Regions from separate parts of the Homo sapiens genome. Here region 2 is linked to region 1. The links are contacts of gene promoters, found by promoter capture Hi-C in blood cells and fetal thymus (Javierre and others, 2016). All regions are on one chromosome and are shown on one strand. Each heading gives the region's core, a stretch centred on a gene start or on the middle of the fragment in contact. The rest is flanking DNA. Distances are from core to core; before and after follow the strand shown.

Region 1 (7,769 bases), core at 519-3,018:
AAAAAAATGATCTGTCGGCCGGAGGCGGTGGCTCACGCCTGTAATCCCAGTACTCTGGGAGGCCGAGGTGGGTGGATCACCTGAGGTCAGGAGTTGGAGACCAGACTGCCCAGCATGGCGAAACCTCGTCTCTACCAAAAAATGCAAAAATTAGCTGGGCGTGCTGGCAGGCGCCTGTAATCCCAGTTACTTGGGAGGCTGAGGCACAAGAATTGTTTAAACCCGGGAGGTGGAGGTTCCAGTGAGTCGAGATCGCGCCACTGCACACTACAGCCTGGGCGACAGAGCAAGACTCTGTCTCAAAAAAAAAAAAAAAAAAAGAAAAGAAAAGAAAAAAGATCTGTCAACCATAAAATGATTTTTTTTTTTTTTTTGAGACGGAGTCTTGCTCTGTCGCTCAGGCTGGAGTGCAATGGTGCGATCTCGGCTCACTGCAACCTTCTCCTCCCGGGTTCAAGCGATTCTCCCGCCTCAGCCTCCCGAGTAGCTGGGATTACAGGCACCGCCATAGTGCCCAGCTAATTGTAGGAACGGGGTTTCACCATGTTGGCTAGGCTGGTCTTGAACTCCCGACCTCAGGCGATCTGCCCGCCTCGGCCCCCCAAAGTGCTGGGATTACAGGCGTGAGCCACCGCGCCAGGCCCGTAAAATGAAATTTTAACCATAGATTCTAAATTGCGTATTCACAGAGTAACTGAGACGATTGCAACTTATTTAAAACTATGTGTAAATCATCTTGAAACAAGTTAATGAGAAAGATCACATGATTAAAACAATAAAAAATGTTGCTTGAGGAATAATGCACAGACGGAATTTAGAAAAAAGGAAAGCCAGAACAACTGCAGACGGTTCTTTTCGCTTTTGTATAGGACTGAGCTCCTCTTCCGGACAAAAACCAGGAATAAGGGAGGTCTTCTTAGTAAAAGCAAAAGTAAATTGTCTTAAAAAAAAAAAAAAGGTTGCAAGTGATTTGGTCTTTCCAGAAAAGTCAATACCATGTCTAACAGTGGTCTCTACTACAATAACCTGAAGGTGCTAATGACCCTCACAGTAAAATAAGCTAGCAAATGGCCACACCGTAGAGCGCCTACATTTACTGCCAATTAAGTCCAACTGCCGCTGTCTTAATATTTTCGCTTTTTAATGAATCCTCTCTCTAGGTATTCCGATCCATCCACCGGTAACACGCTGATACTTCGAAATACTGCAGGCAGGAGTGGACGGGGGAGAAGCCCCCCCCCTCCCCGGGCTTCTTTCGTGTTCGGGCCTCTGCTGCCGCGATCCACGGAAGCAAGAATGAGTTCCATCGCTTGGGGCTCACCAGCTAGAGGGCTGGCGGAGGCTGCGAGGGGCAGAAGTAGCAGCAGGCTACTGGGTGGGCAAGCGGTGTGTACCGCAGCTGTGGAGGACATCGACGCGGAACGCCCGGATTGAGCTCAGAACACACCGGCCCCGCCCGGGACTCATTCTACAAGCTTCTTCGGAAGAGGCGCCCGCCCGGGAGGAAGGGTCTAACCCCGGGCTCCACCGGGAGGAGATAAACTACTCACTGTCAATGTCCTCGATGAGGCTGGCGGTGCCAGGCATATAGTTCATTTTGAACTGAAATAATGCTGCAATGCACAGCGGCGGGAGGCCAGCGCGTCCAAAACCTCTTCCCTCCTACCGCAGTCGCCGCCTCGGTGGGACCAAGCCCGGAATCCCGACCGAGACCAGCACTTCTGCCCCGGCTTTCAGCCGCCGGGGGCTGCCGGAAGCTCCTCCATATTACCCTTACCCACTTCCTGTAACACGTGTGGGCCCCCAGGAAGAGGCGGGGCAGCCGTACCGTTGGGGGACACCCTTTCCCTGTTCCTGTTAAGTAGGTAAGAGGAAACTCCATTGGATAAATGGCGAGGAAACGTATACTCCCTCTTAAGGAACACGGTGTCTTCCTTCGTCTCCGGGTTCCCGAGACCCCAGAGTCACTGACCTCCGTCCCTCAGCTTTCGGGGTTCGGCAGCAGAAGGGGCGGGCCCGGGCCTGGGATTGGCTGGCGTCGTCCGACCCCCTTCGCTGCTCTCCATTCGCAATCGCCCGCGGGCGCCTGCGCGATGGGTCGGCCGTGGGGAGCGGGGCGGGAAGCGCTTCAGGGCAGCGGATCCCATGTCGGCCCTGAGGCGCTCGGGCTACGGCCCCAGTGACGGTCCGTCCTACGGCCGCTACTACGGGCCTGGGGGTGGAGATGTGCCGGTACACCCACCTCCACCCTTATATCCTCTTCGCCCTGAACCTCCCCAGCCTCCCATTTCCTGGCGGGTGCGCGGGGGCGGCCCGGCGGAGACCACCTGGCTGGGAGAAGGCGGAGGAGGCGATGGCTACTATCCCTCGGGAGGCGCCTGGCCAGAGCCTGGTCGAGCCGGAGGAAGCCACCAGGTAAGCTTTGCACCCTCTGTCCTTGCGGGGAGGTGAGGGCCCTTGGGGCTGGGGTTCGTAAAGGATCGGGTTTCATACTTGTTTTCCTTATGTGGAGGAGGGTGTGTTGCGGGGGGTGTTGGAGAGACCGAGACTAAGATCAGAGGTTGGGGGGACATGCTTGTGTTCCCTTTGCCCCTCCTTTTCTGCTTCGACCCCAAAAAATATGTTTATTACCATTTAAAAAAGAAAGATCCTGCGCGGACTTACTAAGCTTAGCAGCAGGCTGCAGATCTCTCTCCTGGGAGCGGTGCTGGGTAGGGGTGGCACGGATCTACTGCTCCAGCTCTAGCAATTTATCCTGCGTGGCTGGCAGGCCGGCTCTCCCGGGGAAGGGAAGTGGCTGCAGCCCCCGATGCCGCTCAGGGACCCTCCCGAGGGGAAGGAACCTTTGCGAGGAGGAGGGATCTGGGCATTTAGCTGTTTGCCCCTAATGCCTTGCCTGAGATCGAATCATGAATAATCAGTGTTGTAAAGTACCTTTACGCGGATTGACTGATTTAATTTTCACGGCGACTGCAAGGTAAAATGGCATTACAGCGGCCCTTTTTTTTGTTTTCGAATAAGGAACCGGGGCTCTGCGAGGTTAACTCACTTGCCTAATACACTTGGACCTGCAACATTTTATTCTCCGTTTTCCTGCCGGACATATACTTCTGCTTTGTTAATACAGTCTTCTGGGTAGTGGGTTGTCGTTCTGCGGTGGCAGCATACCTCTCTGTTCGTTCAAGAATTATCCTCATTTGTTGAAAATGTAATAGTGAAATTCTCGTACATTGCTGGTGGGGATGTAAAATGGTGGAAAATAGTTTGGTAGTTCCTCAAAACATTAAGCATTAGAATTAGTCTATGACCCAGCAAGCCCACTCCTGGCTATATACCCAAGAAAACTGATAACGTATGTTCACATAAAGCTTGTCCGCCCATGTTCATAGCATCATTATTCATAATCGCCAAAAAGTAGAAATGTCGTTTTTTTTGTTTTTTTTTTTTTTGAGTTGGAGTCTCGCTCTGTTGCCCAGGCTGGAGTGCAGTGGTGCCATCTCGGCTCACTGCAACCTCCGCCTCCCGGTTTAAGCGATTCTCCTGCCTCAGCCTCTCGAGTAGCTAGGATTACAGGCGCCGGCCATCACACCCGGCTAATTTTTGTATTTTTAGTACAGACGGGGTTTCGCCATGTTGGCCAGGATGGTCTTGAACTCCTGACCTCAAGTGATCCCCCTTTCCCCTGCCCCTCGGCCTCCCGAAGTGTTGGGATTACAGGCGTGAGCCACTGCGCTCGGCCCCAAATGTCATTTTATTATTTGAGTTATAAAGTGAGTGAACCTCTTGGAGCCCTGGTTCTTTATTCGAATACAGGAATGTTGTAAGGACATAACGACTGATGCATCGATAAACAAAATATGGTGTTAATATATTCATTCAATGGAGTATTATTTGGCCTTAGAAAGGAATGAACTGCTGATGCATGCTACAATATGAATGAACCTTGAAAACATCACACTACGTGAGCTAAGTCAGTCAGAAAGACTGCATATTGTGTGATTCCATTTATATGAAATGGCCAGAGTAGGTAAATCTAGAGACAGAAAGCTTAATGGTTGCCAGAGGTTGGGGGACTGGCGGTGTAGGTGAGAATATTCTTTTTGGGATAATGAAATGTTCTAAAATCAGGGCCTGGTGAGATGGCTCACACCTGTAATCCCAGCACTTTGAGTTGCCGAGGCTGGAGGATTGCTTGAGTCCAGGAGTTCGAGACCAGCCTGGGCAACATAGTAAGACCTTGTCTCTAAAAATAAAAAAATAAAAAACAAAAAATAAGAAATGTTCTAAAATCAGTGGTGATGGTTGCACAACTCTGAATATACTAAAAACTACTGAATTGTACATTTTAAAAGGGTAGAGTTTATAGTATGTTGATTATATCACAGTGTAAACAATTGTATGAGAAAAACATGGAGCAGTGATAAATTATTTTTTATTTTTATTTTTTATTTTTGGGACACAGTCTTGCTCTGTCGCCCAGGCTGGAATGCAGTGGCGCAATCTCAGCTCACTGCAACCTCTGCCTCCCGGGGTCAAAGTCTCCTGCTTCAGCCTTCCTAGTAGCTGGGATTACAGGCGCCTGCCACCATGCCCAACTAAATTTTGTATTTTAAGTAGAGACGGGGTTTTGTCGTGTGGGCCAGGTTGGTCTTGAACTCCTGATCTCAGGGTATCCTCCTGCCTCGGCCTCCAAAAGTGCTGGGATTACAGGTGTGAGCCACAGTGCCCGGCCAAGATTAATTATAAATTAAAGAAAGATCCAGCTGGGTGTGGTGACATGCCTGTAATCCCAGCACTTTGGGAGTCCAAGGAAGGCGGATCACCTGAGGTCAGGAGTTCGAGACCAGCCTGGCCCACATGGCAAAACCCCGTCTCTACTAAAAATACAAAAATTAGCTGGGCATGGTGGCGGGCGCCTGTAATCCCAGCTATTCGAGAGGCTGAGGCAGGAGAATCGCTTGAACCCAGGAGGCGGAGGTTGCAGTGAGCTGAGATCACACCATTCCACTCTAGCCTGGGAGACAAGAGCGAAACTCCATCTCAAAAAAAAAAATAAAGAAAGAAAGATCCATATTTTCTCAGCCTAAATCTGGAATACATAGGTCATGGGACTATAGAATGGTGAAATGCTTGGCCAAATTAGACCAAAAATCAGTTGAAGTGGGGAAAGAGGAGAGGACCTCTAAACTGATGACTGACTTTTGCTGGGCCTGCTGTATTATCAAAACCAAAGTCTGTTTTCTGGCATAGAGTTAGGGAGGGTTGGATAGACTAAAGAAGTTAAGATTTTAGCATTGTGTAAGGGGTTGTCAGGTGTGGTTTGAGTACATTTGTGCCCACAGGGTGGGTGATGGTGCTGAAGTAGTTGGAGATAAAGGTGGAAATGTGTAATGGGCATTTGTAAACCATTTTAATAGTTTGTACTATCTTTCAGATTGATGATTCTGAAACTTTAAAAGTATAGGATGGTAATTTTTCTGCAGCAATAGAAAACTCATACCAAAGATATGTATGTTGGCCGGGCGTGGTGGCTCACGCCTGTAAACCCAGCACTTTGGGAGGCTGAGGCAGGTGGATCACCTGAGGTCAGGAGTTCGAGACCAGCCTGGTCAACATGGCGAAACCCCACCTCCACTAAAAACACAAAAATTAGCCAGGCATGGTGGCGCATGCCTGTAATCCCAGCTACTAGGGGCACTGAGGCAGGAGGATCATTTGAACCCGGGAGGCAGAAGTTGCAGTGAGCCGAGATCATGCCACTGCACCCCAGCCTGGGCAGCAAAGCGAGACTCCGTCTCAAAAAAAAAAAAAAAAAAAAAAAAAAGATATGCATGTTGTCACAGATGTTGCAATGTTTTTTCCAGATTTGTTATTTTGACTTTTTTTTATGTTTTGCATTTTTATAGTATACATCTGTCAAATTAAAAAAACAAACAGTATAGGAACCTTTTATAACCTTGCTACTCAAAAAGTGTGGTCCATGGACTAGAAGCCTCGGTGTCACTTGTGAGGTTGATAGAAATGCAAAATCTCTCCTCTTCCAGACTTACTGCTGCAATTTATTAAGATCCCCAGGTGATTCATATGCACATTAATATTTCAGAAGCATTGCTCTATAGAACTGATTATATTTAGATGATGTACTGAACTACAACACAGACTTGACTATATTAACACATTTAAGTATGGCAGGGAAAAAATTAGAAATCTATCACTATTTTTTTTTTTTTTTTTGAGACCGAGTTTCACTCTGTTACCCAGGCTGGAGTGCGGTGGCCTGATCTCGGCTCACCGCAAGCTCCGCCTCTTGGGTTCACGCCCTTCTCCTGCCTCAGCCTCCCGAGTAGCTGGGATTACAGGCACCCGCCACCACGCCCGGCCAATTTTTTTGTATTTTTAGTAGAGACGGAGTTTCACCGTGTCAGCCAGGATGGTATCGATCTCCTGACCTCGTGATCCGCCCGCCTTGGCTGGGATTACAGGCGTGAGCCACCGCGCCCAGCCTTTTTTTTTTTAAATTTTTTTTTGAGACGGAGTTTTGCTCTTTTTGCCCAGGCTGGAGCGCAATGGCGCCATCTTGGCTCACTGCAACCTCCACCTCCCAGGTTCAAGCGATTTACTGCCTCAGGCTCCCAAGTAGCTGGGATTACAGGCACCCGCCACCATGCCCGACTACTTTTGTATTTTTGGTACCCGGCCACTCCCTATGTTTTTTTAGAGTAAAACTTTAGGCTGGGTGCGGTGTCTCACGCCTGTAATCCCAGCACTTTGGGAGGCTGAGGCAGGCAGATCATCTGAGGTCAGGAGTTTGAGACCAGCCTGGCCAACGTGGTGAAACCCCGTCTCTACTAAAAATACAAAAATTAGCCAGGTGTGGTGGCTCACACCTGTAATCCCAGCTACTTGGGAGGCTGAGGCAGGAGAACCACTTGAACCTGGGAGATGGAGGTTGTAGTGAGCCGAGATCACACCACTGCACTCCAGCCTGGGCAACAGAGCAAGACCTTGTCCCAGAAAAAGAAAAACAAAAATTAGCCGGGCGTGGTGGCGGGCGCCTGTAATTGCAGCTAGTCTGAGAATTGCTCAAACCAGGGAGGCGGTGGTCGCAGTGACCGAGATCATGCCACGAACTCCAGCCTGGGCTGCCTAGCGAGACTATCTCAAAAAAAAAAAAAAAAAAAAAAAAAAAAAAGGAAGTAAGGGAAAAGAGTTAGAGTTGAGAAACCTTTTGAGCTAAAGGGAGAAAAGTAACAAGTTTGGAGTTGGAGCAGAGGGGCATTGACAGCTATTGGTCTCCTTTCGTGGTGGAGTAGGAAGCTAGGTCATCTTACAGTAAGGGAAGTAGAATGGGATGCTCTGCAAAATTTATGTGGTAAATGTTTGAACCAGATGCTGGGGCAAGAGGGACAACACAGAGAAGCATTTGGAAGAGATCCAAATGAGTTTGAAAAGTTAAAAAATTATGATGGTCAGTATAGGAGCATAAGGTGATTTGTTAGTGATTATGAACCATATAGCTATACAAATAACTTATGTACTTTACTAATAATTTTTGTCCAATTCTTATGAAAAATATAAGCAAATCTGTAAATGGAATTTATGTAGTACGAGTGCTACTGATTCCTCTGCTGTTAGATTTGCTTGGACTGGGGTTTCAGTTTGGGGGAATGTTGGTAAGTCATTTTGGAAAATGTAATCACATATCCACTTTAAAGGAATTGACTCCAGTCTTCAGCTGGGATTATTTATTTCTCAGAAGAAAGGAAATA
Region 2 (7,709 bases), core at 3,676-6,175, 240 kb before region 1:
CTTTTAGACTCTGCTTCCTACCAAGGAAGGACAATGAGAAAGGAGGGTGTGAGGTCCCCCTTGCCCTCAAACCTCCCTCATTGCCAGTCCACTCTTCTTACCTTCAAAGGTCTCCAACAGAGTGCCAGAGGCTCTGGGATGATTATGAGTGGGAGGGAGGTTTGATCTCATATTCATTTAAGCAAACCAGGGAGGCTCCCAGGCAGATTTTGCCAGAGTTGCAAGCCCCTGATGCTCTCTTATCTCCCCAAGCAATCTGGAAGAGTTCATATAACTCATTGGCCTGGGTGCAAAACAAATGTCCTATCACTCTGTCCCCTAAGGCAACCCTTGGCATAGCCACCGCCATTGGTACACATCAGGTCCTTAGTAAATGTTGATGAATGAATGGAGTAAAAAGGCCACATGGGCAGGAGAGAAGCACCCTGCCGAATCCTGCAGATCAGCAGGTCTGCAGGCACCCAGGGCCTCTCCCATCCCTTCCTGCTCCAGCCCTCACCCTTACCATTCTCCCAGCAGAGCAGGGTTGCAGAGGATGGAGGTGATGACACGTGCACCCGTGTTGGGGGGGTTTAGCCACAGGGCCTGGGCTAATCCTTCCAGCTGGGAGAGGACACACAGCAGCTGCTGGTTGTTGACTGCCACCACCACTAGCATCCCCACTCCTTCATCTGCAGTGTTGGGAAGACAGCCTCAGCCTCAGCCCCTTCCTCCACTCCCAAGGCCTTCACCTAGATCTCAACCCCCAACCTTGCAGAAGAAAGGGTTGAACCACAAGGCCCTCATTGCAGCCCAGCCAGGGTGATATTCAGGCTCCGGGAAGTTGCCAGAGGCTCTCCTTCCAGCAAAAGTACCCATAAGTCAGAGTCTTAAAGGAGGAAGGAATTTGAAAGATCACTAAGTTCTACTCTCCTGTTTTTTCCTTTCCTTTCCTTTTTTATTTTTATTTTTATTTTTATTTGTTTAAAGTGACCATCTCTCTCTGTTGCCCAGGCTAGAGTGCAATGGTGGAATCATAGCTCACTGCAACCTCTACCTCCTGGGCTTAAGCAATCCTCCTGCCTCAGCCCCCCGGGTGGGTAGGACTACTGGTGTGTACCACCATGCCCGACTAATTTTTTTAATTGTTTGTAGAGACCGGGTCTCGGTGTGTTGCCCAGGCTGGTCTTGAATTCCTGGCCTCAAGTGATCACCTAACCTTGACCTCCCAAAGGAGGGATTAGGAGGTGTCAACTGGGATTACAGGTGTCACCCACCATGCCAGCCCCACCCTCTCATCTTATAGTTGAGGAAACAGAGGCCTGAGGGGGTGAAATGATCCAAGCCAAGCTGGGTTGGGTTCTGTTACTAGATTTAGTAACAGAACCAAATTCTAGCTCAGTGCTCCCCACTTCTGCTTCTATAGTGCTCTCCCTAGAGTCCTTGGCTCCCTCCCAAGGATGAGATATCAAAAACATCACTGTGCTGTGAGCGCAGCACCACTTCAGCAACAGACCCTCCCTTCTTCTGCCTGTACCATACCATAAATGCCAAAATTCTTGGACAGAGACTGGCTGCAGAAGAACTCAAAGCCTTGAGACACAAAGTATTGTAAGATTCTAGTATCTTCTTCCAAGTCACTGGTGTATAAACCTTGACAGGGAATATCAAAAAATGGGAATATCTGCTTGCTCTGTAGGAGAAAGGAGAACAAAAAAAGAATGAGACAGATGGAGGAGAGAGCAGAGAGTCAAAGACAGGAAGGTCGGGTGGGAGATTGGGTTTACCTTTATCATGGACATCAACTTTGCCCACCCACTTGGTGTCAACTTGCAGTCGATAATGTTCCCCATCACAAGGACACAGCCATGTGGGATCTGCTGCAGGTACAGACGGTCTCATCAGGCTTCACCCCCACCCAGGAGTGGCGGCCCCAGGGCATTTGGGGGTGAAGTGCTCCTCCATGTTAGTTACCATTGAAGGGCCAGGCAAATTCAAACCTGGAAAAGGTCTTGGATGACTTAAGAGGTGTGGGGAGGAGAGGAACATTAGGCTGTAAGTCAGCTCTAGGGAGGAGTTTCTGAGCGGGGCCCCTCTACCTCCACCACATTGAGGAGTATGTCGGGGTCCATGCATAGCTTCTTGGGGTCCCAGACAGAGTATTCATAAACTGTAAAGCCCATGTCCTGGAAGACGAGTCCATGCAGTTCTGTGGGAACACAGCCCCCCACTAGCTGGTACATGGGAAACAGAGAGACGGAGACAGAGGTACTGGAGTGTGGGGCTGAGAGTCACTGGCTGAAGGTGGGACATTAACAGGAAAAGGACATAAATAGCTTGGCTTGTCTGCCATTTTGCTCATGACAGAGAATGAGGGATAACAGTGAAGATGGCAAATGGGGTGAGGATTAGGAACAAGGGACGGGGATTGCTGTTCCCCTCATCTTGGGTAAGACTAACCTTTTTGAGAAGAGATGATGTAAACTATACGAGCATCCTTATGCCAAGCTCTGAGAAACTGGACGCCAAGCTGGAAGGCACCACTGTCACCAACAGTGTGTACACCCCCTACCTGCCAGCAAGACATAGACACAAATAGGCCAGGTGTGGTGGCTCACACCTGTAATTCCAGCACTTTGGGAGGCTGGGGTGGGTGGATCACTCGAGGTCATGGCCAACATGTTGAAACCCCGTATCTACTAAAAATACAAAAATTAGCCGGATGTGGTGTTGGGCATGTGTAATCCCCGCTACTCAAGAGGCTGAGGCAGGAGAATCACTTGAACCCGGAAGGCGGAAGTTGCAGTGAGCGGAGATCAGGCCACTGCACTCCAGTCTGGGTGACAGAGTGAGACTCCGTCTCAAAAAAATAATAAGTAAATAAACATTAAAAAATAAAAAGAAATAGACAGAAATAACACTCTAAAACAGTAATGGAGGCGAGACGCAGTAGCTCATGCCTGTAATCCCAGCACTTTGGGAGGACGAGGCAGGGAATCCCCTGAGGCCAGGAGTTTGAGACCAGCCTGGCCAACATGGTGAAACCCTGTCTCTACAAAAAATACAAAAATTAGCTGGGCGTGATGGCACATGCCTGTGATTCCAGCTACTCAGGAGGATGCAGCACCAGAATTGCTTGAACCTGGGAGGTGGAGGTTGCAGTGAGCTGAGATGGCACCACTGCACTCTAGCCTGGGTGACAGAGTGAGACTCTGTCTCAAAAAATATATATAATAGGTTAAAAAATAAAACAGTAATGGGAATACTAACACCACCTCCAATTCAGATCATTCCTGTCTTGAAAGAGCTTTCAAATCAGCAGTGTGAGCAGGTGGGAATACCACTGGACTGAGATTCCGATCCTGACTCGATGGCTAAGGACTTGTGGACTCTCTGAGCCTCAGGTATCTCTTTTATCAATACCAGGGGGCCCTCCGAGGTCCCCTTCGGGTTTAAGGTTGTGCAGACCCAGATCGCCACTCTCTGTGTCTAAATGAGCCAGGGGAGGGCCCACCTTCTCACCCTGTTCTCCACAATGGCTTGGCTGTGCTTTCCAAAGAGGAGTGCTAGAGAGGCCTGGATGAATGATTTCAGGCCCATGGTGGGCAAGTACTCATAATTCAGGGAGGGATCCTGTGAAATCTGTAGTCGAGTCTTCTGCACCACGAGAGAAACCCAGGGATGGCCTTCATTTGTCATGCAGACTGTGAGGAAAACCACAGAGGGAGCTCCAGATGCCTGGTTTGGGCCCCCAGGGCTGAGCTCTGCAGACAGCCTGCAAACAAATCTCTCCTGGACTCCATGGGGCTGTGGGAAGGTGCCTGTGAAAATACAACTTTCCCTTTTCTTTTCTCCTTGATGAAAAGAATATGCTGTTAGTGAATGTGTATTATTTTTGTCTTTTTAAAAAAGACAACTGAAACCTATGCCATTTTAAAGGTTAAAAATTATACAAGCCCAGGATTGGTGGCTCAGGCCTGTAATCCCAGCACTTCGGGAGGCTAAGGTGGGTGGATCACTTGAGTTCAGGAGTTCAAGATCAGCCTGGGCAACATGATGAAACCCTGTCTCTACAAAAAAATACAAAACAGCCAGACATGGTGACCAGCGCCTGTAGTCCCAGCTACTCAGGAGGCTGAGGCAAGAGGATGGTTTGAGCCCAGGAGGCAAAGGTGGCAGTGAGCTGAGATCTTGCCACTGCACTTCAGCCTGGGCAACAGAGTGAGGCCCTGTCTCAAGAAAAAAAAAAAAAAAATATATATATATATATATATATATATATATATATATATATATGCAAAATGAGAGTTATAGGTAGATGAAGCTAAATAAAGGTAACCCTGACTTTCACAGTGGTGAGCCCCAGTTGCATAGCAGAAAGCTCAATCTGGAGAACCATTCTTGGTTCAAGAACAGGAAGAGAAAGAGAAAGAGAGAGAGAGGAGGTAAGAATCTGAAGAAGTGTGGGATGGCCATGCAGGCCCCCAAGCATAGAGTTGTGGAAGAGGACATAGCTCTCACCAAATCCCTAGAAGCCCCCAGAGAAGGGCAGAGAGCATGGAATGACCTGGGACCTTATCTGCACTTTTCCCCACTGGGTAATTCTGTTAACAAGAAAAGATCTCTCCACCCACAGAAGCTTGGGCTGCACCCCTCCCCCTGCAGCAGGGAACACTGTCCTCCTAGAGGCAGTTACCATCACTTAAGTCTTATACTTCAGAACTGCTAGGCATCTACCTCTATAGGCTAAGAATATCTTGTTCGGGTAATCATCTTGTTTGTAGGTCTTTAACAAGCTGCCCTCTAGCTTGTGGGCGAGGGGCACATCCATGAACACTGAAAGGGTGGGCATAACTGAAACGAAACTGGAGCCAAGACTATGTGTCTCTGCTCCTGTGTTCCGCTTCTGCCCAGAAGTCTTCCTCCAAGGCTGGGCCGGGCAGTCCTGCCTCTTCCTGGAACCTTGGCAGCCCCAGTGCAGAGGCGCTGGACAACGGGTTGCCAGGGCAACAGAACCTCATGATCTTTGTGGTGGCGATCCACAGGGGCCACAGGAACATTCCAGGGTACTTGAGGAGAATCCCCTCAGACAGCGGGCAGGGCAGGATAACAATCTCCGGAATTCCCAAGCCCGTTTCCCTCACTCAATGCCTTCTCTTCTCTAGCCCCAGGTGGCTCAGTCCAAAGTAACAAGCCCACTCCTTAGATGACAGGGCAAGGATAATGGGAGATTACTTAACAGATACAATGTACATTGTTGGGGTTATGGATACCCTAAAAGCCCTGACTTCACCACTATGCGATGTATGCATCTAACAAAATTACACTTGTACTTCACACATTTATACAAATTAAAAAAAAAAAAAAGAAAGAAAGACATAGGGCAAGGCAGGCAGCCAATAAGCCAGATAGGGCTTCTCCTGCAGAAGCAAAAACCCCAGATCACACACCAATGCAAGTCGAGGCATTGATTTCCATTTTGCAAAGTGCCCCAGATTTCAAAAGGAATAAAAAGCAAACACTGTTTTCTTCCACAGTTGTTTTAATAAAGAATCCTATTATTAGAATATAATTGGCAACTCACTAAGCCAGTCCTATTTCTCTCAGTTATCTAGAGCCAAGACTTCTACATATGTTTGTTAAGTTTCTTTTTCTTTCTTTTTTTGGTTTTTTTTTTTTTTGAGATGGAGTCTCACTTTGTCGATAGTCTCGAACTCCTTGCCTCAGGTGATCTGCCTGCCTTGGCCTCCCAAACTGCTGGGATTACAGGCATGAGCCACCACACCTGGCCATTTGTTAAGTTTCAATGACAGCCAACTAGTAAGTATAGACAGCAGAGGCCAAGGGGAGAAAAGAGCCAGCCTCTATAGAGTCAGTCTGCATATTGCTTGCTTTCTTTTCCTTTTGATGTTTAATGACTCTCTCTTTTTTTTTTTTTTTTTTTTTGAGACAGAGTCTCGCTCTTGCTGCCCACATTGGAGTGCAGTGGTGTGATCTCGGCTCACTGCAACCTCTGCTTCCCAGGTTCAAGAGATTCTCCTGCCTCAGCCTCCCGAGTAGCTGGGATTACAGGCATGCGCCACCACACCCAACTAATTTTGTATTTTTAGTAGAGAGGGGGATTTCTCCATGTTGATCAGGCTGGTCTCAAACTCCAGACCTCAGGTGATCTGCCCACCTGGGCCTCCCAAAGTGCTGGGATTACAGGCGTGAGTCACTGCGCCCGGCTTTTTTTTGTATTTTTAGTAGAGACAGGGTTTCACCACGTTGGCCAGACTGGTCTCAAACTCCTGACCTCAAGTGATCTGCCTACCTCAGCCTCCCAAAGTGTTAGGATTACAGGCATGAGCCACCACACCCAGCCTGATGTTAAATAACTCTTTAAATGATTGTTGCAAACACTGTTGATGTCTCACCCAGAAGGCCTTCACCACCAATGTGCCCGGCCCCAGCTGCTGCTTCGCTGGTGGACAAGGCTTATATGCCTGTGTTCTCTGGAGAATTGTGCTTGGCTGGCAGGAGTCAGCTAGCCTAGAAACCACCTGGAGGTTTCACCCCCACTGACAGGGGTAGCCAATGACTGCCTGATTTAGGCATACAAAGGGTCAGCCACAGCCAGGCATGGTGGCTCACACCTGCAATCCTAGTGCTTTGGGAGACTGAGGCGGGAGGATCACTTGAGCCCAGGAGCTCAAGACCAGCCTGAGCAACATAGGGAGACCCCCCCCACCCACTCCACAAAAAATTTTAAAATTAGCTGGGCGTGGTGGTATTGCAGTGAGCTATGATCATGGCACTGCACTCCAGCCTGGTTGACAGAGTGAGATCCTGTCTTTAAAAAAAAAAAAAGGTCGGGCACGGTGGCTCACACCTGTAATCCCAGCACTTTGGAAGGCCAAGACAGGCAGATCACAAGGACAGGAGATTGAGACCATACTGGCTAATGGGGTGAAACCCCGTCTCTACTAAAAATACAAAAAAAAAATTAGCCTGGCTTGGTGGTGGGCGCATGTAGGGAGGAGGCTGAGACAGGAGAATTGCTTGAACACGGGAGGCAGAGGGCACAGTGAGCCGAGATCTCTCCACTGCACTCTAGCCTGGGTGACAGAGCGAGACTGTCTCAAAAAAAAAAAAAAAGGAAAAGAAAAAGAAAAAAGGCCAGCCCCCTTGTCTCGGTTCACCTCTGTGGCTCAATCTACACTTCAGGGCCCATTCCCCAACCAGGCGAAGCCTAGACTTGACCTGAGGCCACATCCTTGCTTGGTTCCTTCCCCTTCACAATCCTGCTTCCTTCACTCCCTTCCAGGTTCTTCCTGAAGGGCACTCCTTCCCTAAGTCACATGCCCAGGAACTCCTGTCTCAGGCTATGCTCCCAGGGAACCTGTTTTGAGGCAAATGATTATGAAAGTAGTCCGTATTATTGTAGAAAACTCAAAAGCATCAAAAAATTATAATGAAGCACACAAATTCCCTACAACCAATCCATAACTTCAGTCCGGGTGCACCTCCATCCAGTTTCTATTCTTTGACATTTATATTTTAAGGTAATTGCTATCAACATTTATGTGTCATTTTCATCATACTTTCTTCACTTAACATTTCAGCTGTGAGGATTTTATTGTGTGCCAGTGAGAACCTTTTATGCTGCAGGTAATTTAAAAAAGACCTAGTCCAAACCAGCTTGAGCAACAGAGAGAAAGTATTGGCACCTAACTGGGAGGGCCAGGGTA

The links. Contacts are between HindIII fragments. The CHiCAGO score rates a contact against its expected background, and 5 or more counts as called.
Region 2: the fragment with the promoter of GOT1L1 here is called in contact with the fragment with the promoter of LSM1 in region 1 in 3 of 17 cell types (erythroblasts, megakaryocytes and M2 macrophages); the score reaches 8.9 in erythroblasts.

What each region holds. Positions count from the first base shown.
Region 1 is chr8:38,174,725-38,182,493 of GRCh38, forward strand. LSM1 (LSM1 homolog, mRNA degradation associated) reads right to left here and starts at 1,769. Exons shown (of 4, transcript NM_014462.3): 1 at 1,551-1,769. The coding sequence starts at 1,596. BAG4 (BAG cochaperone 4) reads left to right here and starts at 2,131. Exons shown (of 5, transcript NM_004874.4): 1 at 2,131-2,415. The coding sequence starts at 2,146. RefSeq lists enhancers at 737-1,594, 1,174-1,263, 1,595-2,452, 1,674-1,823, 2,734-3,073. The HindIII fragment of the contact is 945 bases long and covers 1,474-2,418 here.
Region 2 is chr8:37,935,199-37,942,907 of GRCh38, forward strand. GOT1L1 (glutamic-oxaloacetic transaminase 1 like 1) reads right to left here and starts at 4,926. Exons shown (of 9, transcript NM_152413.3): 1 at 4,717-4,926; 2 at 3,502-3,683; 3 at 2,440-2,551; 4 at 2,079-2,188; 5 at 1,767-1,859; 6 at 1,522-1,672; 7 at 506-671; 8 at 1-17. The coding sequence starts at 4,831. RefSeq lists enhancers at 89-590, 4,432-4,948. The HindIII fragment of the contact is 5,963 bases long and covers 4,617-7,709 here.